6 separate regions of the Homo sapiens genome follow, and regions 1, 2, 4, 5 and 6 are each linked to region 3. The links are contacts of gene promoters, found by promoter capture Hi-C in blood cells and fetal thymus (Javierre and others, 2016). All regions are on one chromosome and are shown on one strand. Each heading gives the region's core, a stretch centred on a gene start or on the middle of the fragment in contact. The rest is flanking DNA. Distances are from core to core; before and after follow the strand shown. Region 1 has its middle 69 kb from the start of LINC00310. Region 2 has its middle 55 kb from the start of KCNE2. Region 3 holds the start of MRPS6 (mitochondrial ribosomal protein S6). Region 4 has its middle 24 kb from the start of LINC00310. Region 5 has its middle 4.6 kb from the start of ATP5PO. Region 6 has its middle 45 kb from the start of LINC00310.

Region 1 (3,636 bases), core at 765-3,264, 180 kb before region 3:
GATTTCAACCTTGTTCACTGGAAAAAAAATGCAGAAGCCCGGGCTTCACTCCAGACCAACTGAATACAAATCTCTAGAGGATGGGGCCTGGATATCAATATTTTTCAAAGCTTCCCCCGTGATTCTAATGTGTAGCTAGGGCTACAAACCACTGGGCCAGGTGAGACAGGAAGAGTTATAGACCCCATTGTTTTTGTTGCAAAGCTCCTAACCCACCCTGGGAGCAAGTGGAAGAGAGCCCTGTCCCCCCTTTAAACCCACTGCCCAAGCAGGCATTTCTCAGTATTCAGCCGCTAGAGATGTGTCCTAGGGACCTGCCTCTCCAGAACTGGGTGGAGTTGACTTTCTCAGCTTCTCTTTTGCCAGTATCTGTGTGGCCTCCCAGACCCATGTGCACACACATGCACACACACACACATTGTTCTTTTACCATAAGTGATTCCTCCCTCTTTCTGTATTTGAGATCCTCCTCCCCAAATGGGGATATTCCAGCCAGTGCTAGGAATCCCTACTAAGAACAGCATCATTTTCCTGAAAGTTCTGCCCCCAATGGAAACCACATCTTTACCTCATCAAACTGTTTCTTTTCTAATTAGTGTGTACATGAAGTGCTAGATCCAATGAGAAAGACACGAGTCAGCTCATTAGAGTTCTCAGGTTTATATTGAAAGGAAAATTAGATCTGCATTTATCTAAAGCAAATACATACTCTCGGTCAGATAATGAAAAATGCACCAAATGGCTTTTTAAATGGAGCACAAATATGCTTTGATTGTTCTTTTTGTTTATGTTTTGTTTTGTTTTGTTTTTGAGACGGAGTCTCGCTCTGTCACCCAGGCTGGAGTGCAGTGGCACAATCTCAGCTCACTGCAACCTCCACCTCCCAAGTTCAAGCGATTCTCCTGCCTCAGACTCCTGAGTAGCTGGGACTACAGGCGCCCGCCAAAAAGCCCAGCTAATTTTTTATATTTTCAGTAGAGACAGGGTTTCACCGTGTTAGCCAGGATGGTCTCAATCTCTTTACTTCGTGATCCGCCTGCCTCGGCCTCCCAAAGTGCTGAGATCACAGGTGGGAGCCACCACGCCTGGCCGCTTTGATTGTTTTTAATGACACTCTCTTTTACGCGAGTGACATCAAAGGAAGCACCAGTTAACCAGAAGTGAAGCCAAACTGGCTTGCCTTTGAAAGGGAACAAGTAACTCACTATCCTGTAATCACCACTTAGTTAGGTCCATTGACATTTTGGCTCAAAGTGACTCCTCAGGCTTCATGCCAATTAGTCTGAAAACTGCAGGAAAACCTGAAAGAGCAATGCCCAGGCACTAAGAATGGGGAAAAGATGACTGGATGCTTCTCAAGGTTGTCATTCTGACTTAGCAAAAAGGAAAAGGGAAGACAAAGTAAGAAACACCCCCAGTTAATGCTGATCTTGGGTTGGTAAAAGAACAGGAAGAAGAGGAAAGGCCATATCAGAGTTCCACTGGGTGATGATGTGAGAACATAACATTCCCAGAGAAAAGCATCAAATAAAGAACGTTATACTCTTCTCTCTGGATCACTGCATACCAAAAGGCAATAAAAGGATAAATAGTCAATTTATAAAAGAAAATTCACAAATACTAAACCATGATGTGATGGTCATTAGTTCTACCTTCCTGGTTTTTCTGTATCTTCTCTTGGTCCCATGATAGAATCAAAGGTCCCTTGCACTTGAAGTAGGATATGGCCATGTAACTTGCTTTGGCCAATGAAATGGCAGGAGTAACATGTGTAACTTCCAGCCAGACTGTTTAATAACCTATACGTAATTTGCTACTCTCCCTTGTCTACTGCCTCAGTGACCAGCAGCGTTTCAGACGGTGGCTGCCCCACCGTCTGGCCCCTAGAATGAGGACAGGAACAGCTCAACTCACAGTGGGAATCTAGCATGAGAAAGAAATGAACTTTTGTCATTTTAAGTCACTACAATTTTTTTTTCTTTTTTTTTAGACAGAGTCTTGCTCTGTTGCCCAGGTTGGAGTGCATTGGCACGATCTCCGCTCACTGCAACCTCCACCTCCCCGGTTCAAGCAATTCTCCTGCCTCAGCCTCCCGAGGAGCTGGGACTACAGGCATGTACCACCACACCTGGCTAATTTTTGTATTTTTAGTAGAAATGAGGTTTCACTATGTTGGCCAGGCTGATCTCAAACTCCTGACCTCAGGTGATCCTCCTGCCTCAGCCTCCCAAAGTGCTGGGATCACAGGCGTGAGCCACCATGCCTGGCCATCACTACAACTTTTGAGATGTCATTACCACATCTTAATCCAATGTAACTAGATTTGTTTATATGACATGAAAGAAAATGTTCAACTTCATAAAATTCAAGTACCTATGAAACTAGCAAAAAGGAATTAAATGATCAAGAAACCAATGCTAGGAATGCTGGGTATAAAAAAAAAACCTTGTTGATAGTTATTTGATTTGATAATTTCTGGAGTGTGATCTGGTATTATCTAAAAAGAGTAAAAAAAAAAATTCACATCCTTTAGCCCAAATCCCCTCCTATGAATTTATTTTGTGGAAATAATTCAAAAGAATTGTTGAAAGTTAATTATACAGAATGGTTTACAGAAACTCTTCATAATGGTCAAAACTGAAAACATCAAAATGCCCATCAATTAGGCAAGATTAAGTAAACTGTTGCAATTAAATTATTTAATACTGGAGTGACTAAAACCTATGCAACAGTGCATATGACATAAATTCAGTGAAAAAAGTAGCCCACCTCTGCACACTAATTATAACCATAGAAAGGTTTAGCTCCTGCAGAGGAAGTACATCTTTTCACTTGAATACAAGCCCATGTGGGGAGAAATTTTCTGGATCTTGTGCTCCACCATTCTGAGTATCTGGAATAATACTTGGGACATGGAAAACATTCTGTTATATATTTGTTGAGTTGCTGAATTAATTAACCAAGTAATTACTCTTCATAAAAATTAATCTTCATAAAAACCCTGAAAATCAAACACAATGTTATTATCCTCAATTTATAACTAGAAACAAAATGTGGTTTTCAGAGGGGGTTTTGTTTTTGTGTGTGTGCATATTTTTCAATGACATCATTTCAGAATTTTTAAAGAACCCCCTCTGAGGGGAGCCTAACTCCTCAGCTCTCCTTCTCCAGATGGTCTCTCCTGAGAAGTGTTTCTTCTGTGGTACCCAAGAGGCAGGGTGAGGCTCAGAGGTACACAGAGGCTTAGAAGCCAGGCAGGGGCAGCAGGGTGCTATGCTGGGGCTCTCTTTCTTTTGTCTGAGTTTAGGTCCTGGCTCCAGCAGTTCTTTCAACTCCTCTGAGCTCAAACATAAGTATGCCTTGGAAGAGACCTTGAACGTAAAAGAACTTGTAAACAATACAGAGAGTTACACCAGCATTGGAGACCCAGTTTCCTCATCTACCTGCATCCTAGGGCAATTATAAGAATTCAAAGGAGAATGTACATGGAAGTGCTGTGTATAATTTAGAGTTTTCGGTCAAGATTTATTTTTTGGTGAGGGAATCAGGGTACCTGGATGGCAAGAGCATGAGGTAAAACTTATTGGGTGGCTGTGGCTCCCACAAGCCTGAATGATCTGTCTCCTCATCCAAGTT
Region 2 (4,018 bases), core at 591-3,090, 240 kb before region 3:
AACAAAAGATAGACATGAATGTGGCACAGAGAGACATAGGTAGAAAATATATAAGCAGCTAAGAGGCACGGAGGATAAAGTGAGACAGTCTAACATGTTACCAGGTCTGAGTTTCATGAATTGGTAATAGAAACGATGTAGAAAAGGCAGTATTTAAGAAGATGATAACCGTGAATCTTACCGAATCGATGAAAGATATCAACCCTCAGATTCAGAAAGTCCAAAAAGCACCAAATTAGATAAGTACAAAGAAATCCTCACTTAGAGACATCACTCATGAGACTGTAGAACAGAGGTCAGCAGATCCTGCCACCTCGATGAAGTTTCATGGGAACTCAGTCATGCTGTTTGTTTAGGCGTTGTTTATGACTGCTTTCATACCACAATGGCAGAGTTAAGAAGTTGCAACAGAGGCCGTATGACCTGCAAAGCTAAAAGTATTTATTATATGGCCTTTTACTGAAAATGTTTGCCTATTCCGGTTGTAGAATATCAAAGAGGAGATACTGATTATTCAAATCATATGACAACTTAGCAGCAGAGTTAGAATTTCATCTTAGATCTCTTGACCAATGATTCTCAAAGTTGGTCCCAGAATAAAGACCAGCAGCATCAGCAGCACCTGGGAACTTGTTAAAGGTGCAACTTCTTAATCCCAGCACTTTGGGAGGCCGAGATGGCCGGATCACTTGAGCCCAGGAGCTGGAGACCAGCCTGGGCAACATAGCGAGACCCCATCGCTACAAAAAAATACAAAAATTAACCAGACATGGTGGCACACGCCTGTAGTTCCCACTACTAGGGAGGCTGAGGTTGGGAGAATTGCTTGAGCCCAGGAGGTCGAGGCTGCAGTGAGCTGTGATTGCGCCACTGCACTCCAGCCTGGGTGACAGAGCCAGATTCTGTCTCAAAATAAACAAATAACTTCTTGAGCCCCATATGCCTCTGGAAAGATTCTGATGTGTGTGAAAGTTTGGGAACTAATGCTCTTGACTAGTTTACTAGACCAGAGGTTCTCAACTTTCTAATGATTTTAAGAGTTCTCCATTACAATCACCTGCAGAGCTTTGATAACAATACCATTGCCTGCCCTTACCTCCAAAGACTCCCACCTAATAGGGCTGGAAGCAGGCCTGGGCATTGGTATTTTTAAAAAGCTTCCCAAGTGAGCCCTGTCTTCATTCAGGTAAGAACCACTGCATTACAGGTGACTGCCTTCCTTATTTTATCACTGGTGAAACAAACATGGAGAAAACCTGACAAATTCCCAAAACTTTGTGTTGGATATGTTATTTATGATTATGCAGACTAAATGAGAACAATTTGGGGGTGGGGAGGACTATTTTGCTGAGTTCATGGAACCGCCTAAATAAGTCAAAGTCAAATAAGTCAAAAAAAATCCCTCCTTTCCTTTCGTCTCCCTCATCTCCCTCCTGGAAGAGGAGCTACTGGGCAGTGAAATAACCAAATGTGAAACCATCTGAATGGATAGGGAAGCATACTTCATGAACAATCCATTTTATTGTAAACAATTGTCAGATAATGTAGGGTTTTGGTAATGCCCACCTACATGAGCAAAGGATAAAGGAACTGAGAAAGCTAAGATTTGGCCAGGCGCAGTGATTCACACCTATAATCCTAACACTTTGGGAGGCCAAGGCGGGAGGAACACTTGAGCCCAGGAGTTTGAGACCAGCCTGGGCAATGGAGCAAAACTCCGTCTCTACTAAAAATACAAAAGACATTAGCCAGAAGTGGTGGTGAGCACCTGTAATCCCAGCTACTTGGGAGACTGAGGCGGGAGGATGGCTTGAGCCCGGGAGGTTGAGGCTGTAGTGAGCTGTGATCATGCCACTGCACACCAGCCTGGGCAACAGAATAATACCCTGTCTCAAAAAAAAATCTGTGATTTGATGGGTTAGGAAACCTCAGCCCAAAATCTTCTGCCGTGTAGGTGCACGAGATGAGGGCAGTGGGGGGCAGAGTACTTATGCTAAAGTTCTCACGGATGTGGAGGGCTAGCAGGGGAAGGCAGACACCCTCCTGTCTGTTCACCCCTGATGACACTGACCTCTGCAGAAGGACACATCTCTTGCGGGCACAATATCTACGAAGGCCTGCCCTGCCCCCACCCACCCTCATTACAGGATCACTGCCCTCCTGACAGGCAACCTGAGAACCAGGTGACACCCAGTCATCATTGTCTTCTTGGCTTTTAGGTAAACGGGGCTATTGGATCAAGTATTTCCTTGAGGGAGAATAGTAACACTCAGGGAAAGAGAAAGAAGGGGCTGAAAACACTGCTGCTTCTTGAACAGGAAATATGGGACCTGAGTCACCTCAGGATCTTGTTAATCTCCTGACTGGTTCGGTAGGTCTGGGTGGGGCCTGAGACTCTGCATGTCTAGCAAGTTCCCAGATGAAGGTGATGCTGCTGGTCGTTGGACCACACTTTGAGTTGTGAGAAGCTAAAGTATGCTCCCCAGGCCAGGACCCTAGGGAAATTTCTCTCCACAAGCTTCCTGCAGCCTCTAGCTGCTGACCGCAAGAGCATGCCACAGTGGACACCAAGGTGTGCCCAAGGCTGGTTCTCTGTAGTTTCCACAAGTGTCCGGATCAATTGCCCTTCCCAAGCTTGGTAAAATTCCACTGGTGTAAACAGGAATGCTGAGAGTTCATCAAGTTTTTCACCTAAAATTTCAAAATTGCATAATGTTGAACCACCATAAAAATGAGTGGTTGCTATAATAGAAAAGCCCACAAAATGGCCACAGTAATTTGCATCTTCATAGTTTATAGGCAAGAAGTCTTCAACTTGAGTTGAGGGAGAAGTAAAATAAACAGCTGGGGTTCTTTTTACCACTCACCAGGATACTTATGCACTTATAAGACTGATGCCGGAAACCACATTTTCTTCTGCTCTGAGTTTTCAACCCATTCCCTGGGAGCTAAAGTTGGTGGCCATCATGGCACTGTGAGTGTTTGTTTAAAGCTCACCACACACTTGTGGGGACCAGATCTGGTTCCTTGTGGAAACCTTGGATGAGACAATTGTGAAAAATGTCATGAGCAAAGCTTAGGCAGAAGGGGGAATGAGGGGGCTGGAAAACACCAGAACTGGAAGACAGACAGACCCCTAGGGTCAGAGGAAGCCATGGATCTCTGCTTGGGGGACTCCATACCAGAAGGCCGGGGAGCCTGAGCACAGACAGCTGATCTGAATCCAAATTTTAGCCTAAGGCAGAGTTCAGGATGGCAGTAAGGGGAACAGGGGTCATGCAGGATGATCACTCACTAGGTTGGGGTAAGCAAAATGTCTGGCGTGGGGAGCAGGGTTAGGAGAGAGAGCTGGTCAGGCAGCAGCTGGGATTGGATCACCGATTCCAGGAGGCAGGGGGGTAGCTGCCAGGTGACCTGTGACCTGTCCTTGAGAAACTAGGTTCTCACCTTGGCAGCTCCACCAGAAGTCCATTCTCTCTGGGGCTTAAAGAAGTCCAGACCACCATGGCCATGGACCTGGAGTTCCCTTAGCCCCTCTCTCCAGCACTGCTACGTCCTCTTGGTGTCTGACGAAGCCCCCATGGGGAGGAAGACAGGTGCACAGGTTTACACTGGGGGTCTATCTCATTGGGTTAGACCAAGCAACAGGACATTGTGGAGATGTGGCCACTGGGGACTGGGAATTCACTTCCAGAAGTTCATTCCCTGAGAGGTGGGATACAAACTGACAAGGTTCTTGCTGTCACCCTGGCTGGTCACTGGAATAGTTCAGGGGAGTGTTTAAAGAAATCATGATGCCCTGGCCCTATGCCCAGAGATTCTGACTTAATTAGTCTGGGGAGGGTCTCTGGATGATCCTAAGGCCCAACTGAGGCTGGGTCAGAGGAGCATGGGGAGGTGAAACAGGCAACCATTCCTATGCCTGTCACTCTCCCTCCCTTCTCTTTTTATGGGAAAGCCATCCTATGACTGTGTAGTGTCTGGCAGTCTTTGAGTTTTTATCCATAGATGAGGAATA
Region 3 (3,815 bases), core at 704-3,203:
ATGCGAAGATTTCAAGGAAGGTTATTTATTATTTTAACCAAATTACGCTCTGTTGATCTGAACTAGAGTGAAAAATGGGTGCTCCACATCCAAAGGCTATGTTATTACAGGACATAAAAAAAAATGGTAAAAGAAATACACTTAATACTTGCAGCCATGTTAACCAAGATACTTGGCAACTATGGCAAAAACAAAGGGGAGGGCAAGTCTTCATTTCAAAGGTTTCAAAGGGTTACAGAATGAGCAAATATTATTGCCTACAGGTTGCCTCTTTCAGTGTCACCTGCTACCTCCCCAAGACAAGGAAAGTAAACAAAAGGAATTTCAGTAACGAATTTCCCAGGTTCCACATTCCCTAAAACACGTAAGTTGAAGGGAGGGCTTAAACAACTTCCACCTAATTAAAAATCTTCCCTTTTAATAATGCTTTGTTTTCACTGCTCCTATCCTTTCGGAGTTACATATGCTGGTAAGCAAGGAGGAGGGCCAAAAGGGATATTCAAGAGGCTGAACAGATACTATCTTAACTTCTTCCAAATCCATGAAGAACAAGCTGGGGGACACAATGGCATGCCTGGCCAGGCTGTCTGGACCTCATAGAGAGGCACTGGCGTCCCTTCCCAGTTAACAATATGCAAAGCACACTTCCTAACAATCTCCCGACGCTCCGTGATTGTTAGTTTATCAATTGAGCTTAAGTTCAACCAAACTTGGTAATACTCCTCGCAATTGACCTGGAGCCTAATTTCAAACGTAAAAATGCGTCCACTCCTCTAGCGCTGTAGGAAGCTGTGCTTACAAAGTTCGGACGTGGTACAATGATTTTTGTTTTATTACACCTGGTGGAGAAAAAAAAACATAACACCAAACTACGTTACCGAATTCCGAATTCACGGGAGAATGGGGATTTCGGCGACGACTTGAGGAGTACATGACCCAGGACAGAGGACGAAGTGAGCTGCCTCCGGGCCGCGGGCCCCTGTCCTTGGCCACGCCGTCACCTGAAAGGGGCCGCTGGTTCGCTTAGCATCCCTCCAAACCTGAAATCCCCTACCTCAAGATCAATCAAAAGCAGGGGGAAGAAAGTGTCTTCTGGAGGCGCAAGAAAGGCCACAACTTGGATGAATGAAACTGGGCTAAGGGCACCCGGAGCGGGATTTTCGCTGAAGTCAGAAAAAGAAAAGTCAAAAGATTTTTTTTTAACATGAGAGCGATTGCAAGAGACTGGAATACAGACAACGGCACAAACAAGCTTTGGAGGAACGCTTTATTGGGCGCGGACGTTCCGGGCGGCCGGCGGGCGCTAGAGCGGAGGCGGTCGGCGGCAGCCGGCGGGCGGCGGAGCGGGACGGACCAGGCGGCGGCGGCGGGGCCGGCGACGAGGCAGCTTCACGACTGGCGGGGACGGGCCGGAGTCGGGCTGGGCGCCCGCGCGTGTCCTCCCGCGGACCTTCCACTGGACTCCCGCGGGCCGGCGCCGGGATCGGGGTCGGGGCCCGCTCGGTCCGCCCCGCCCCCCGCCCGGCGGGCCGCTTGCGAGGCACACCCTCCCGGACCGCGCACACGCGCAGGCACACCCCCGCCTCCCGCGCGCACGCGGCCGGGCCCGGCCGGCCCACGCGCGCCCCCTTCCCGCGGACGCCCGCCGCCCGCCCGCCGCCCCGGCCTCCTCCGAGGAGTGCAGGAAGGCCCGGGGTCCCGCGGCCAGGGCGCGCGGGGGACGGCGGCCTAGCGGCAGCGGGGGCGCCCGCGCGGGAAGACCGGCTCTGAGGGAAGGTCACTTACCCGCTGCATGGCTTTCAGGATTAAAGCCAGCTCGTAGCGGGGCATGCCTGGAGGATCGGCGAGTGCGGCTCGGAAGCCAGCCGGTTCCCGGGACGCGAAGGGGCGGGACGGCGGGGACAGTGGGGACCTAGAAACTGCTGCGCCGGACGGCTCCCAGGCGGCGAAAGCACGGTCCGAGAGCGCGAGCCCGGGCTTAAAGGCGCTGGCAGCTGCGCAGACGCCGCGCCACGCCCCCTCGGCGCGCCCCGCCCCGCCCGCGCGCCTTGCCGCCGCCCCGCCCCCTCTCCGCCCGCGGGCGGCCGCCACGCCCCCTCCGCAGCCCCGCACCCGCCGCACCGCCCCCGCCCCGACCCCAGCCCAGCCCGCCGGCCGCGGCTAGGGGCGGTGCTGCAGACGCGGCCCAGAGCGGCTCGCGGCGGCCGCACGCCCCCTCGCGACCCTGCCTGCCCCTACCCCGCCTCCTGCCATGCCTGCTACCTAGCTCTCGAACCGGCTGGAACTTTCCATGCCTTCCTTCTCCTCCCGGGCGGCGGGCGAGTGAGTGCCCGCCAGTGCGCGTGCGCTGCGGTGCGGTCTCGTCCGTGCGCGTGCCCCTCGCCCGCGACTCCCCGGAGCTAGGGACCTTCGCGGCGCAAGGCGGGGTCGCGGCCGGCCCGGGGGCTGTGCGGCCAACGGCTGCTCGCAGGGGTTCTGGAACATTCCCGCCCGGGGTCGGTAGGGGGGTGCAGCTCTCGCCCCCAGCCACAACTCTCAGGTCTGACGCGGCTGACCAGGCCCCCTACCCGGCGAGGAGCGCGCTGGCACAGGCCGTGGGCCGCGGCGCGCGGGCTCGGGTCTGACTCAGTCCCTTGGCACTGCGTGACCTTGGGCCTGCTGCCTGTGCCGAAAGTGGGGACCCGAGTGAGTTACTGCACGTTAACCTCCGAGGACGGTGCCTGGTACACACAGGCGCGATACGGGCATTTGTGGTGTGCCCCTGACCTGCCCCCACGTGTTTCAGCGGAGGGCAGGCGAACACCTTAACTCTATCTCATTTCTTTAAATGTTTCCTCCGCTTTCACTTAAAGGCTAGGCTGAGTGCCTGGGAGACCCTTTAGCAACTGTCTAAGGTGGGCAGGGGCATACGTTCTGCCCTTGCCATCCCTTTACACCCACATGGTTCTCCGCCCTCCAGCCAGGGGCTCTGCAAGTGCAGTTTTCTCCAGCGCCCTTCCTTAGAGGTTGAGTACCCTGCAGCTGAGGCCTCTGCCCCTTGTTTGCCCCATTAAAAGCTCTGTACGTGGAGTGTTTGTCAACTTAAAGTGCTTTAACGTTAATAGGTAAAGTTTAGTGAACACTTACTCTGCATCAGGCCCCATGCCAAGGCTGGTGGATGTGTCTCCTAAAATTCTCACAACAGCCCTGAGGTGACAAAGATTCTTTGCTTGGCCAAACTTTAGTCAGGCTTCTGAATCTCATGCTAGGCCCATCTGTGCACTTCCTTGTAAAATCCAGTTCTAGCACAGAACCCCCATCCCCTCATAGCAGATCAGGTTCCTCATCTTCCTCTATCCCCCAGTCATGTCTTTTCACCCTGGCCTGAGTTCTACAAGAATCCTTTAGATCGGTTGAGCCAGAATCCCTCTTCCCCCGATGGTTACTCTTAGTGATTTTACATGGCCATAAATTTCTACTTGCCGACGCTGCATTCAGAATTGGAGCCCACTCTCTCTCCCCGGGTTTCCCTGATCCCTGTACCCATCGCGTTGGTCCTGAATAAAGTCTTTCTTACCATGCTTTAGTAAGCATCACTGAGTAATTTTTTTAAACAGAGGCAAGCACTGTTAACCCCATATTAGGGATTAGGAAATGTAGGCACAAAAAGTTTTGTAACTAGTCCAAGGTCATACAGTAATAGAAACAAAGTACTTTTAGCCGCCCCTCTACCCTTCTGACCTCCGGTTCTCCTACCACACAGATGAAGATGCTGATTGTTATTCAGTGGATTAACCGTGTAGTCCACGTAAGCCAAGATTAGAGTACCTTTGTCA
Region 4 (3,925 bases), core at 546-3,045, 130 kb before region 3:
ATTTTGAATATGGGCTTCACATTTATAGTAGAATAAATTCTGACTGGGTCAAAGATTTAAATGTAAAAAGAAAAAACATAATACTAAAACAAAAATGGGAGCATGAGGAAGGCCTTGCTAACTACAACTCAAAATCTAGAAGCCACGAAATAAATGGTGAATAATTTCAACTGCATGAAAACCAAAAGCTTTTGCATGGCAAAAAGCAATTGAAAAAGAAAAAAAAAACACCCTAAGCAAAATCAGTAACAAATGACAAAATGAGGAAGATGTGTAACTCACATCACAAAGGATTAATTTCCCTAGTATATAATAAGCTTCTGCAAATTGATGAGTCAAAAGGCAAACAAACCAATAGAAAAGTGGGCATGGATATGGAGAGCTCACAATGAGAAACATACAAATTAAAACCATACTGGTTTTTTCAAATTTATCGAATGGCAAAAATCCAAAAGTTTAAAAGCCAAGTCTGTTGGTAAGCTTTGAAACATAGGCACTCTCTCTGATACATTGCTGCTGAGAGCATAAATTGGCATACCCCCTGTAAAGGCTAATTTGGCAACATCTGTCCACATTAGAGATGCATTTACCCTTTGACTCAGCAGTTTCACTTCTAGGAATTTACCTTATGCATAAACATAATTGTGTGCTGAACGAAGAATTGCAGTTGTCCACAGCAGCATTGTTTGAAAGCAAAATACTGCAGACAACTTAAATGTCCATTTCTAGGGGATTGTTTGGGCATATTTTAGACAGCAAGAAGCACTAGTAAAGAAAAATGAGGAAATGGTTTATGTACTATGATGAAAAGATCTCTAAGATGCACTGTCAACTGAAAACAGTGAGGTAAGGAACACTGTACTGTGTATTAGCAATCAAGTAGAAAAAGAGTTGGGAGTGGGGGAAGAACATATTCCATGTGCTTGTATGTGCAAAAATCCCACAAAACTCTAGAAGGATAAACAACAAATTAATAACAGTGGCTATGCCTTTAGGGTGGGGGATAAGAATTGGGCAGATGGGGGCCGGGCACAGTGGCTCATGCCTGAAATCCCAGCACTTTGGGAGGCTGAGGTGGGTGGATTACCTGAGGTCAGGAGTTCAAGACCAGCCTGGCCAGTATGGTGAAACCCCGTCTCTACCAAAAAGACAAAAATTAGGCGGGCATGGTGGCAGGTGCCTGTAATCCCAGCTACTTGGGAGGCTGAGGCAAGAGAATTGCTGGAACCTGGGAGGCAGAAGTTGCAGTGAGCCAGGATTATGCCACTGCACTCCAACCTGAGTGACAGACTGAGCCTCCGTCTCAAAAAAAAAAAAAGAAAGAAAGAAAAGAATTGAGCAGATGGGAAAGGACACTTTTCACTGTGTAATGTCTTATACTTGTTGATTTTTTTAACCATAAAATGCATTACTTATCCAAAAAGTTAAATAAATAAAACGTTCAGCTATGTGAAGGAAGCATAGGACAATATCCCTCTCTCTCCCTTTCCTTACCCCAGAGCAGCCTGGCTCCTGCAGAGCTGAGGAACTGAGCACGTGAGGTTGTCTTGGTTTCACAGAGCCTGGAGTGGGCATAGCTGAGTCCCTGAAGGTTACACGACTTGCTCAGGCCTGTCCAGTGAAGTCAAGGGCAGTTCCAGAGCTGGAAGCACAGGGCTGGGACGTGGCCTCTGGTCTCCTCCAGTGAGGAGGCAGGTGCCCAGGGGCAGGGTGCTTCTAGATGGCCCCCAAAGGAGCCCACCATTGCTACATTCTAGAGCAGCTGAAAGGGAGCCCAGGGCCGGCCAGCCAGCTCCGCAAAGGATTCTGGGTGATGAGGCATTGTGGGATTTTCTGAAATGACTTCATGTCATTTCTCTACCCCAGATCACCCTCCTCGCCTGGTGAGAGTTGAGAGGTCTCAAGCAGGATTCCAAAACCGAGAAGGGTCAGAGACTGGGAAAGGAAACTGGCCTCTCCAGCAGGAAGAAGCTGCCCCCAGGCCCTGGCCCCAGGATCTTGACTAGCCTATTAAAGACATGAGACTGAGGCCTGGACACTGGATTCCATTTTTTAATTTCCCTGGGGGAAACATTCCACACAGCAACCAGCAGGGTCATTTACTTCTTCAGGAGGCCTTTTATCACCCTGTGGCTGGAGGACCATCTGCAGCAGCCCCTGCTGTGCGCTGGCAACACTGAGCAGCATGTGCGCGGCTGCCAGGGGCTGCTGGCCACCTGGGCCTGGGTAGGAAAAGGACTTAATTAGCCACAAAGAGCTCCCTGAGTATGCAACTCAGAATCACTCAGTCTGTTCGCAAACAAGTAAAGCACCTACCATGATCCCAGCATAGTCCCGGTTGCCCCTGGGGTTCCCAAAACCCCAGCCTCCCTCATGCTTCTAGGCCCTCCACACAATGCAGCGAGTGACACGAATAGTCTTGCATTGGTCACTAACTGCCTTTTGCAGCTAAATTCTATTCACAGCAAGTCTGTGGCCTCCCCAAAGCTAAGGATCCCTGTTATATCTCCGGATATTCACAGAGCTCCCAGCGCAGCCGAGAACACACAGCCAGCCCTGCAATAAATGCTTGTTGGTTGCCTGCCAGGATCCAAGCTAAAAATGGAGTTGCCTTACGGCCAGGTAAGACCCAAGGCAGAGCTTCAGTCGTGCCCCCCCCCAGCTGTCAGGAACACTCACTGCAAAAGTCGGCCCTTCAGGTCACCTTCAAGGCCCTACAAACTCTATCCGGACCTGCCCCCCCATCAGCCTCTGACCCTGGCACTCATACCCCTCCAAGGACAGTGCCGGCCTTCCTGTTCCTCCAACAGGAAAGGCCACCGTCTCCCCTCAGACCCACTGCACTTGCTGGCTGCCCACTTCTAGAATGTTCTTCCCCTAGAAATCCATGGAGCTCACCCCCCCATCTCCCTGTCAGGTCTCTGCTCAAAGAGTATCTTCTCCATGAGGCCTCCTCATCACCCTATTCTAAAGCACTCTCACCCCGCATTTCCCCATCCCCCTTTCCTGCTTTCTTTTTCTCTATATCACTTACCACTGCCTAAACAGGAAAAAAAAAAAAAAGATTTTTCCTATTTATTTTATCACCGGTCTCCTCCAATCTAAGCTTTCTAAGAGCAGAGCTTTTTGTGTTTTGTTCAGCTGTGTATCCCTCCAGGCACAGAACAGGGCCTGGAGGGTTCAACAAGGCCCTCCAGGGCCTTGAGTAGGTGCTCAACAAATATTTACTGAATATATTAATATATGTATTGATTGATTAATTTAGCTGGGGCTCTTTCTTGAAGTTAATCGAATTAAAACAACATAGATTTTACATTGCTTGTGCACATGGATGAAAAACAGTTCCCTATACTTCTTTACTGTTTCATAGACGTAGTTTTATTTTATTTGGGTCTCACTAAAGACCTTACTCGATTAGATGGGGCAGAAATGGTTATGACCTTGATTTTACAGAGGCGAAAACTAAGACTCTGAAGGGTGAGATTTCCCCAGGACCTTCAACTGGTCACTAGCAGAACCGGGGCATCCAGGTTTCAGGTCCCATGTGCTGGGCTTTGTTTACTAAACCTCAGGGCTTTAGACTCAACCTCAGGGCTTCTCCGTGGATTCTTGCTGAAGCTTCCTACTTTGTTTCAAGAACCTGTATTTCCCCCTTTCTTTCTCTTCCCTCCTCCCAGATAGCTTGGGGCCCACAGTTCCCCACCCCTGCCCGATGCAGATGGCAGAAGAAACCATTGTAAGTCTCCTCGAGCTGAGCGCTGTGCACCAGGTCGCATTCTAAATTTTTGGACTGCGTTCACCAGGGTCTTTCACATTTGCAAGGAGCAGAAACAGGCCTGGATCCTCTGAAATAACAGGGAGGTATTGCCATAATTCACACAGAGTTAAGAAAGATAGGATTTCCTAACACAGACCAACCTCGCGG
Region 5 (3,728 bases), core at 677-3,176, 150 kb after region 3:
CTACAAAAAGATAACAGAATTAGCTGGCGGCATGGTGGTGCATCCCTATAGTCCCAGCAACTAGGGAGGCTGCGGTGGGAGGATTGCTTGAGCCTGGGAGGTTTAGGCTGTAGTGAACCATTATTTCACCCCTGCACTCCAGCCTGAGTGACAAAGTGAGACCCTGTCACACAAACAAAAATTTATTTTAAGTCACTTTTTTTTTTTGAGGTGGAGTCTCACTCTGTCGCCCAGGCGGGAGTGCAGTGGCACAATCTAGGCTCACTGCAACCTCCGCCCCGCGGGTTCAAATGATTCTCCTGTCTCAGCCTCCTGAGTAACTGGGATTACAGGCATTCACCACCATACCTGGCTAATTTTTGTATTTTTAGTAGAGATGGGGTTTCACCCTGCTGACGAGGCTGGTCTCAAACTCCTGACCTCAGGTGATCCGCCCGCCTCGGCCTCCCAAAGTGCTGGGATTACAGGTGTGAGGCTTTAAGTCACTTTTTAAGCCTTTGAGTCACTTTTTTAAGAGCATGTACAGTGAGGGTCTGATGCCACCACACTGCTCATTTCTACCACTGCATATGGTTTCTTTGTAGAGAAAATAAAACAGCGAGCAATATTTATTTTGAATTGAAGGTCAGTGTAAACAAAAACATCGAGATTAGATGTCCGAGTTTTGCCCTGTGGCCTTGGGCAAGTACCTTTGACTCCATTGGCCTCAACTACTAAAATATTAAAATAACTCATTTTTAAATGATTTGAGTTTGTGCAGAGAGAAAGCGCGATAACTGCAGAGTGCTAAGTCTCTTCACTTCTTTTTCTTTTTTTGTTTTTTTTTTTTTTTTTTTGAGACAGGGTCTCACTCTGTCACCCAGGCTGGAGCACAGTGGTGCGATCTTGGCTTACTGCAACCTCTGCCCCTCAGGGTTCAAGTGATTCTCCCACCTCAGCCTCCCAAGTAGCTGGGACCATACGCCCAGCTAATTTTTTTTTTTTTTTTTTTTGTAGATACATTGTTTCACCATGTTGCCGAGGCTGGTCTTGAACTCCTGAGTTCAAGCCCATCTGCCCACCTCAGCCTCCCAAAGTACTTAGATTGCAGGTGTGAGCCACAGCGCCCGGCCTCTTCCCTTATAGGATACAACTTTTTGTTCCTTTCCAAATGCTCTGTTCTTGCATAGCAGAGGGTGTGGCAGTGTCACAGCTGGGAAGTTTCTGCCAGTTCCCTCCACATGGGAGTTTGCACATGGCGCCCTGGCCTGACATCACAGTGATTTGCCTACAGGCACCCAGAAATCCAAGAGCAGGCAGGAGGGAGGTGTGGATGCAGTGTTATCAGGCTTCAGGGCTTCTGTGTTTCTCCCTTTGCCCACACCACTAAAATACAGGCTAGCTTCAAAATCCCATTCCAGAAACACATCCTGAATGATTCACTTATTCTTTCAACCATAGAGATGGAAAGAGATGGGACTTGGTGCAGGTGCCTGGGTTTGAGATGCAAATTGCCATTTCCTAGACAAGCTGCGTAAGCAGGATCCAAAACGTTTTCACCATCTATAAAATGGGGGAATACCAAGCCCATCTACATCTCGAGTCATCCTAAAACTCAAAATAAAAATGAAACCATATATGTGCAACCAGTTAACAAATCCTAAAATTGAAATGACCATAAACCACTATTTTGGAGATGTGCAAGTGGCTGGAAATTATTCTAGATATGAAAGAAAGTGTGTCTTAATATGTTTAGAAGATTCAGAATTGTTTAAAATGTCAAAAAGTTGGGGGCAGGGCACCAAGCGCGGCGGCTCACACCTGTAATCTCAGCACTTTGAGAGGCCGAGGTGGGTGGATCTGGAAGCCAGGAGTTTGAGATCATCCTTGGGTAAATACAAAATAAACAGAGGGTATTTCTCTGCTGCTGTGCAACCTTACAGTTTACTTATAATTAATTTTTTTTCCTTTTTTCTCCTTATAATTAATTTTCCATGCAGCTTTTCAATTTTCTCTCACCAAGTTGTGTCAGTTTTGGAAATCTATTTCAAAATTTTTCTAGATATAAAAAAAGATGCTTAGAAGATTCAGAATTGTTTAAAATGGCAAAAAAAAAAAAAGTGGGGGTTGGTGGTGCCAAGCAAGGTGGCTCACACCTATAATCCCAGCACTTTGGGAGGCCAAGGCAGGAGGATCGCTTGAGCTCAGGAGTTCGAGACCAGCTTGGGCAACATGGCAAAAACCTGTGTCTACAAAATACAAAATTAGCTGGGTGTGGCTGTGTGCACATGTAGTCCCAGCTACTCAGGAGGCTGAGGTGGGAGGATTGCTTGAGCCTGGGAGGCTGAGGCTGTACTCAGCCATGACTGTGCCACTGCACTTTAGCCTGGGCAACAGAGTGAGGCCCTATCTCAAAAAATAAGCAAATAAATAAAATAAAATGGCAAAAAAAAAAACAAAAAGCAGAAACCATCTGAATTATATTCAGAGTCTAGAGTTTCCCAAGTATAGTTGACCCTAGAACTTTTTATTTGTATTACATCTGTTAACACCCACACTTCAGAAAACACAGGTTTTGCAGTTTAATTTCTCATAGAATATAAAGTTTATAAAGGTAGGCACTGTGTCTTGTATCCTGTTGTAGCCTCAGTGAATAGAACAGCTGGCTACATGTAATAGCTGCTCAATAAATTGTGTTAAATAATGTGTTGAATACTTTTCATTAGGCTTATTTGAAAATAGTCTCTGAAAGTTTGCAGAGTAGAGTGAAACAAGGGTTTTCATGTGCTGCTACGGAAAGTATAAATTGGTTAAAATTTTGAAAAGCAGCTTGGCCTCATGCATCAGAGGCTCTTAGAGTACTCATATTCTCTCACCAAGTTGTGTAAATTCTGGAAATCTATTCGGAAATTTTCCTAAATATGAAAAAAAAAAATGACTGGGCATGGTGGTGTGCACCTGTAGTCCCAACTACTTGGGAGGCTGAGGTAGAAGGATTGCTTTAGTCCAGGAGCTCTCAGCTGTAGTGCACCATGCCGGTCAGGTGTCCACACTAAATTAAGCATCAATATGGTGACCTCCCAGGAGCAGGGGACCACAAGGTTGCCTAAGGAGAGGTGAACCAGCCAAGTCAGAAACAGAGTAGGTCCAAACTACCATTTTTAGGCCGGGCATGGTAGCTCATGCCTGTAATCCCAGCACTTTGGGAGGCCAAGGTGGGCAGATCACCTGAGGTCAGGAGTTCAAGACCAGCCTGGCCAATATGGCGAAACCCCATCTCTACTAAAAATACAAAAACTAGCTGGGTGTGGTGGCATGCACCTGTAATCCCAGCTACTCTAGAGGCTGAGATAGGAGAATAGCTTGAAACCAGGAGGCAGAGGTTGCAGTGAGTCAAGATTGGGCCACTGCACTCCAGCCTCAAAGACAGAGCGAGACTCCATCCCAAAAAATAAATAAATAAATAAATATAAAAATAAAATAAAACTCCCATGCTGATCATTAGTGGGAATCATGCCTGTGAATAGCCACTGTACTCCAGGGCAAAAGAGCCAACACCATTTCTTTTTTTTTTAAAAAAAAAAAAAGAAGGCTGGGCACAGTGGCTCATGCCTGTAATCTCAGCACTTTGGGAGGCCAAGGCGGGTGGATCACCTGAGGTCAGGAGTTCAAGACCAACCTGGCCAATATGGTGAAACCCTGTCTCTACTAAAAATACAAAAAAATTATCTGGGAATGGTGTCACATGC
Region 6 (3,953 bases), core at 118-2,617, 150 kb before region 3:
ACAACTCCTATATGCAGCACAACCAGCCCAAAGCCATGTGACCAGGCTGCTCACACTCATGCCCAGCCCTGCAAAGGCCCTGCTCTCCTATCCGTCGCCCCAGCCCACCTTTGTACACATGCACTCCCCAGAAGACCTCAAGGCAAAGGATCTCCAGCTCCACACCCCACCCACCACTGGGTCTTCCTTTCAGGCTGAAGCAGACTTCTCTTATGCCAAAGCACTTATCCTTCTCCAAGGAACCAAGTGGAAACCTAGAGTGGGAATTCCATACCCATCCATCCTCTCCCATCATACCCTCTCCCATCTTCCTCCTGACTCAATCTGCCATCCCCCTCTCCCTCCTGCCTCCGATGCTGCTCTCCAAATTCTTGCTCCATGATCGCAAACTCTCTACCTTTGCATCTCAGCCATCTCATCGAATGTTCCCTCCGACTCTTGGCTTAACTTAGTGATTCCCAGCCCTGGCTTCACATCAGAATCCCCTGAGGAAATGTTTAAAAAGATACTTCTGCCCAGAAAGGGCTGGCTACCTAATTTCTGAAGCCAAGCACAAGACAAATATGCAGGCTTTCTTATTCAACAAACATTAAGGATTTTCAAGATGGCAGCAGCAGAGCATTAAAACAAGCACAGGGCCCATCTGAGTTCCACTGTCCAGGTCCAAGGCCATGGAGCAGCCCTGTGCCCAGGTACTTGCCCTAAACCTTCAGATTTAATTAGCCTGGGTAAGGCCCTGGAATCTGCATTTTAAAAGCTCACCAGGAGATGCTGAGGAGACCCAGCTGCCCCAGGCTGACCAAGAGATACTGCGTCTGTTGCAGCCCTCTCAAATGGAAACTTTTGGAACCAGAAGTTGGGCTCCTGTCTTCCTGGCTCCATAGAGTCACTTCCAGACTTTTTCTCTGTGTGGTCTGGAAATTACAGTCCTGCAAATTAGCTGCTCAACTAGATCTAAGGTCAATCTTGGATTTTCACTGCCCTTGTCTAGGACATTTCTGGACTTCTCTTAGCACCTTTCCTCATCCAACCAATATTTAGCAAACAGTTCACAACTTTCTCCACCCCCATTCATGTTGCTGCCTCAGCATCCCTGTGTAAGGCCCAGCCAAGGTCCTGGCCCCTCGGCCCCTTGTTCGCCCCATGATCAGTGACCACCTCTCTTCTTCCACCTCAGCACCCATTCCCATGCTCACTGCTGGGATCTGGCCAAGACTCAGAGCTCCTTCACTCCTAAATCTCAAACCCAAGTTCCCCACTCTCTGACCACAGCATCCTGTCCTAACCTCTCTCTCATCCCCACTGAGGCCTTCAGTCCAGTGACCACCCCCCCAGATATTCCTTATCTATTACTTTTACTCGCTTCACCTTCCATTTTATCCTGCTAACATTCAATAGTCCAATCTTGTAATTACTCTCCTCCAAATACAGATGCTCTTAGACTTATGGTGGGGTTACATCCTGATAAGCTCATCCTAAGTTGATGATATCGTAAGTCAGAAATGCATTTAATACACCTAACCAGCTAAACATGCTAGGTTAGCTGAGCCTACCTTCAATGCACTCAAAACACATTAGCCTACAGTTGAACAACATCATCTCACACAAAGCCTATTTTATAATAAAGTGATGGGTATCTTGTATGTTATTGAATACTGTACTGAAAGTGAAAAACAGAATAGCTGTATGGGGGCTGGAAGTACAGTTTCTACTGAATGTATATCACTTTTGCACCATTGCAAAGTCAAAAAAATCATAAGTGGAACAAGTCAGAGACTGTCTGTACTAGACATTCCCTTCCTCTCTGTCCTTACGTCTCACCTATCTAGCAAAATTCAAGCCTTGGGTGGATGTCATCATCCACTTTCTCTACACCTGCTATTGGCCAGCAGATCACTGCTGGAGGGACATCCCAGAACTGCACAGCCACCCATCTTGGCTATGCCCTCAGGACTGCCTGGTAATTGGAACCACAAAGGGCTCCTTCGGTCAATACAGGCTCTTCTTTGCACAATTTATACTTCAAACCTTCTCCAATCTCACCACGTCTGAAACCACTCCTTCCTTCCTTCACATTCAGCAAATGACCTTGTCATCTACTGTACTGAGAAAAGAGAACAAACTGTCTCACCAAATCTACAAACAGATGTCCCTGAGTTTGCACCCACCTCTCCCTCCTCCTGCTGAGAGGGCCAGCTCCTTCACAGATGCCCTCTGTGCCCTGTGCCTGTTGCTTTCTCGAGGGCCTGGTGCTACCAGCTATCCTCTCTAGCTTGTTCCTTCCATCTCCTCCATCAGCATTTAAATCCCCTAGCTGCAGGTGGGCACAGTGGCTCATACCTGTAATCCCAGCACTTTCGAAGATTGAAGTGGGCAGATCACCTGAGGTCAGGAGTTCGAGACCAGCCTGGCCAATATGGCAAAATCCCATCTCTACTGAAAATAGAAAAATTAGCCTGTCATGGCGGTGCACACCTGTAATCCCAGCTACTCGGGAGGCTGAGGCAGGAGAATCACTTGAACCCGGGAGGCAGAGGTTTCAGTGAGCCGAGATCATGCCATTGCACTCCAGCCTGGGCAACAGAGCAAGACTGTCTTAAATAAATAAATAAATAAATAAATAAAAATTACCATGGCTGCAATCTTTGAAAAAGGAAAGGGAAAAAGAAAAGAAAAAGAAAAGGGAGAGGGGAGAGGAGGGAAGGAGAGACCAGAAGACCCTCCTCTTCCTCCAGCTCCTATCCTCTCTTACTGTCTTTTTTTTTTTTTTTTTGGCAGGGTCTTGCGCTATTGCCCAGGTGGGAGTACAGTGGTGCGATCACAGCTTACTGCAGCTTCAACCTCCTGGGCTCAGATGATCCTCATGCCTCAAGTTCCCAAGTATCTGAGATTACAGGTGCATGCCACCATGCCTGGCTGATTTTTGTTTTTTGTATCTTTGATATAGACGGGGTCTCACCATGTTGCCCAGGCTAGTCTTGAATTCCTAGGCTCAAGTGATCCAACCACCTAGGCCTCCCAATGTGCTGGCATTACAGGCATGAGACATTGCACCTGGCCTCTCTTACTCTTGCCTTTGTGGCCACACTCCTTGTGTCTCCCTCATCTGCCACTGACCCCAGACCCCATTCCCACAGACTTTCACTACACCACTTTAAGGAAACAATTCTTAATAAGGTCTCCAATCATCTCCGTTTTAAACAGAATGGCTACATGTGGGGCCTCATCTTACTGGACCTCTCAGTGTCACAGAAACAGGCTGACCACTCCCTTATTTCACAAATACTTTCTCCCCTTGGCTCCTTCACACCGTTTTCTCTTCCTATTTCTCTAGCTTCACTCCTCGGTCTCTTTATGGGTTCTTCCTCCATGCCGTAAATATTATATGGTGGAGCTCTTGAGGCTCCATGCTAGGCACTGTTCTTTTCGCCCTCTACTCTCTATTCCTGGTTGATCTCAACTACTGCCATTTCTGCAAATATCATCTAAGTGCAGACTCATTTTTCTCTCCAAAGACATGAAATATCAATGGCTATTTCCCTCTCCCATTCCATAAGCATCCTGGGCTGATAGTAGACTCTAGGCTCCCCATGTCTTGCTGCTCTGCCGCCCCTGGGATATTGCATTCATCTGCACAGTCACGATAACTCACCACCATGTCTGTACTACAGCCTTTGGGAAGAGGAAAAGTGGCAGGGAACAGACAGACCCTTGCCCTTTGAGGACACACCCCAGAAGTTGTATACATCACTTCTGCCAACATCTCATTGGCCAGAACTTGGGCCAATGAGCTCCAAGGGACACCTGGGAACTGTAAGCTTTATTCTGGATGGTCACATGCCCCTTTAAACTCCTCTTAGAATGAAAAAAGGGGAAGGCAAATATGGAGAGAAAACTACAAGAATCGGCCACAGGGCTCAGCAAAATGTACCAACTTCCTCTTTTGTCAAATA

What was found. Contacts are between HindIII fragments. The CHiCAGO score rates a contact against its expected background, and 5 or more counts as called.
Region 1: a contact is called between a fragment that was not itself captured here and the fragment with the promoter of MRPS6 in region 3, in 1 of 17 cell types (neutrophils). The highest score is 7.8, in neutrophils.
Region 2: a contact is called between a fragment that was not itself captured here and the fragment with the promoter of MRPS6 in region 3, in 1 of 17 cell types (neutrophils). The highest score is 5.1, in neutrophils.
Region 4: a contact is called between a fragment that was not itself captured here and the fragment with the promoter of MRPS6 in region 3, in 2 of 17 cell types (non-activated CD4 T cells and neutrophils). The highest score is 5.6, in non-activated CD4 T cells.
Region 5: a contact is called between a fragment that was not itself captured here and the fragment with the promoter of MRPS6 in region 3, in 6 of 17 cell types (non-activated CD4 T cells, activated CD4 T cells, monocytes and 3 more). The highest score is 7.4, in non-activated CD4 T cells.
Region 6: a contact is called between a fragment that was not itself captured here and the fragment with the promoter of MRPS6 in region 3, in 1 of 17 cell types (neutrophils). The highest score is 5.2, in neutrophils.

The regions. Positions count from the first base shown.
Region 1 is chr21:34,248,262-34,251,897 of GRCh38, reverse strand. No RefSeq gene overlaps it. Among named protein-coding and RNA genes, the nearest start is that of LINC00310, 69 kb to the right of the region's middle. The HindIII fragment of the contact is 3,804 bases long and covers 113-3,636 here.
Region 2 is chr21:34,306,654-34,310,671 of GRCh38, reverse strand. No RefSeq gene overlaps it. Among named protein-coding and RNA genes, the nearest start is that of KCNE2, 55 kb to the left of the region's middle. The HindIII fragment of the contact is 1,361 bases long and covers 1,160-2,520 here.
Region 3 is chr21:34,071,716-34,075,530 of GRCh38, reverse strand. It overlaps MRPS6 (mitochondrial ribosomal protein S6), which reads right to left and starts at 1,953. Exons shown (of 3, transcript NM_032476.4): 1 at 1,786-1,953. The coding sequence starts at 1,830. SLC5A3 (solute carrier family 5 member 3) reads right to left here and starts at 1,953. Exons shown (of 2, transcript NM_006933.7): 1 at 1,786-1,953. RefSeq lists silencers at 1,296-1,695, 1,986-2,505 and an enhancer at 1,092-2,042. The HindIII fragment of the contact is 10,607 bases long and covers 1,255-3,815 here.
Region 4 is chr21:34,202,894-34,206,818 of GRCh38, reverse strand. No RefSeq gene overlaps it. Among named protein-coding and RNA genes, the nearest start is that of LINC00310, 24 kb to the right of the region's middle. RefSeq lists an enhancer at 2,164-3,162. The HindIII fragment of the contact is 2,626 bases long and covers 483-3,108 here.
Region 5 is chr21:33,918,527-33,922,254 of GRCh38, reverse strand. It overlaps the pseudogene RN7SL740P. Among named protein-coding and RNA genes, the nearest start is that of ATP5PO, 4.6 kb to the right of the region's middle. The HindIII fragment of the contact is 5,747 bases long and covers 1-3,728 here.
Region 6 is chr21:34,223,549-34,227,501 of GRCh38, reverse strand. No RefSeq gene overlaps it. Among named protein-coding and RNA genes, the nearest start is that of LINC00310, 45 kb to the right of the region's middle. The HindIII fragment of the contact is 4,907 bases long and covers 1-3,820 here.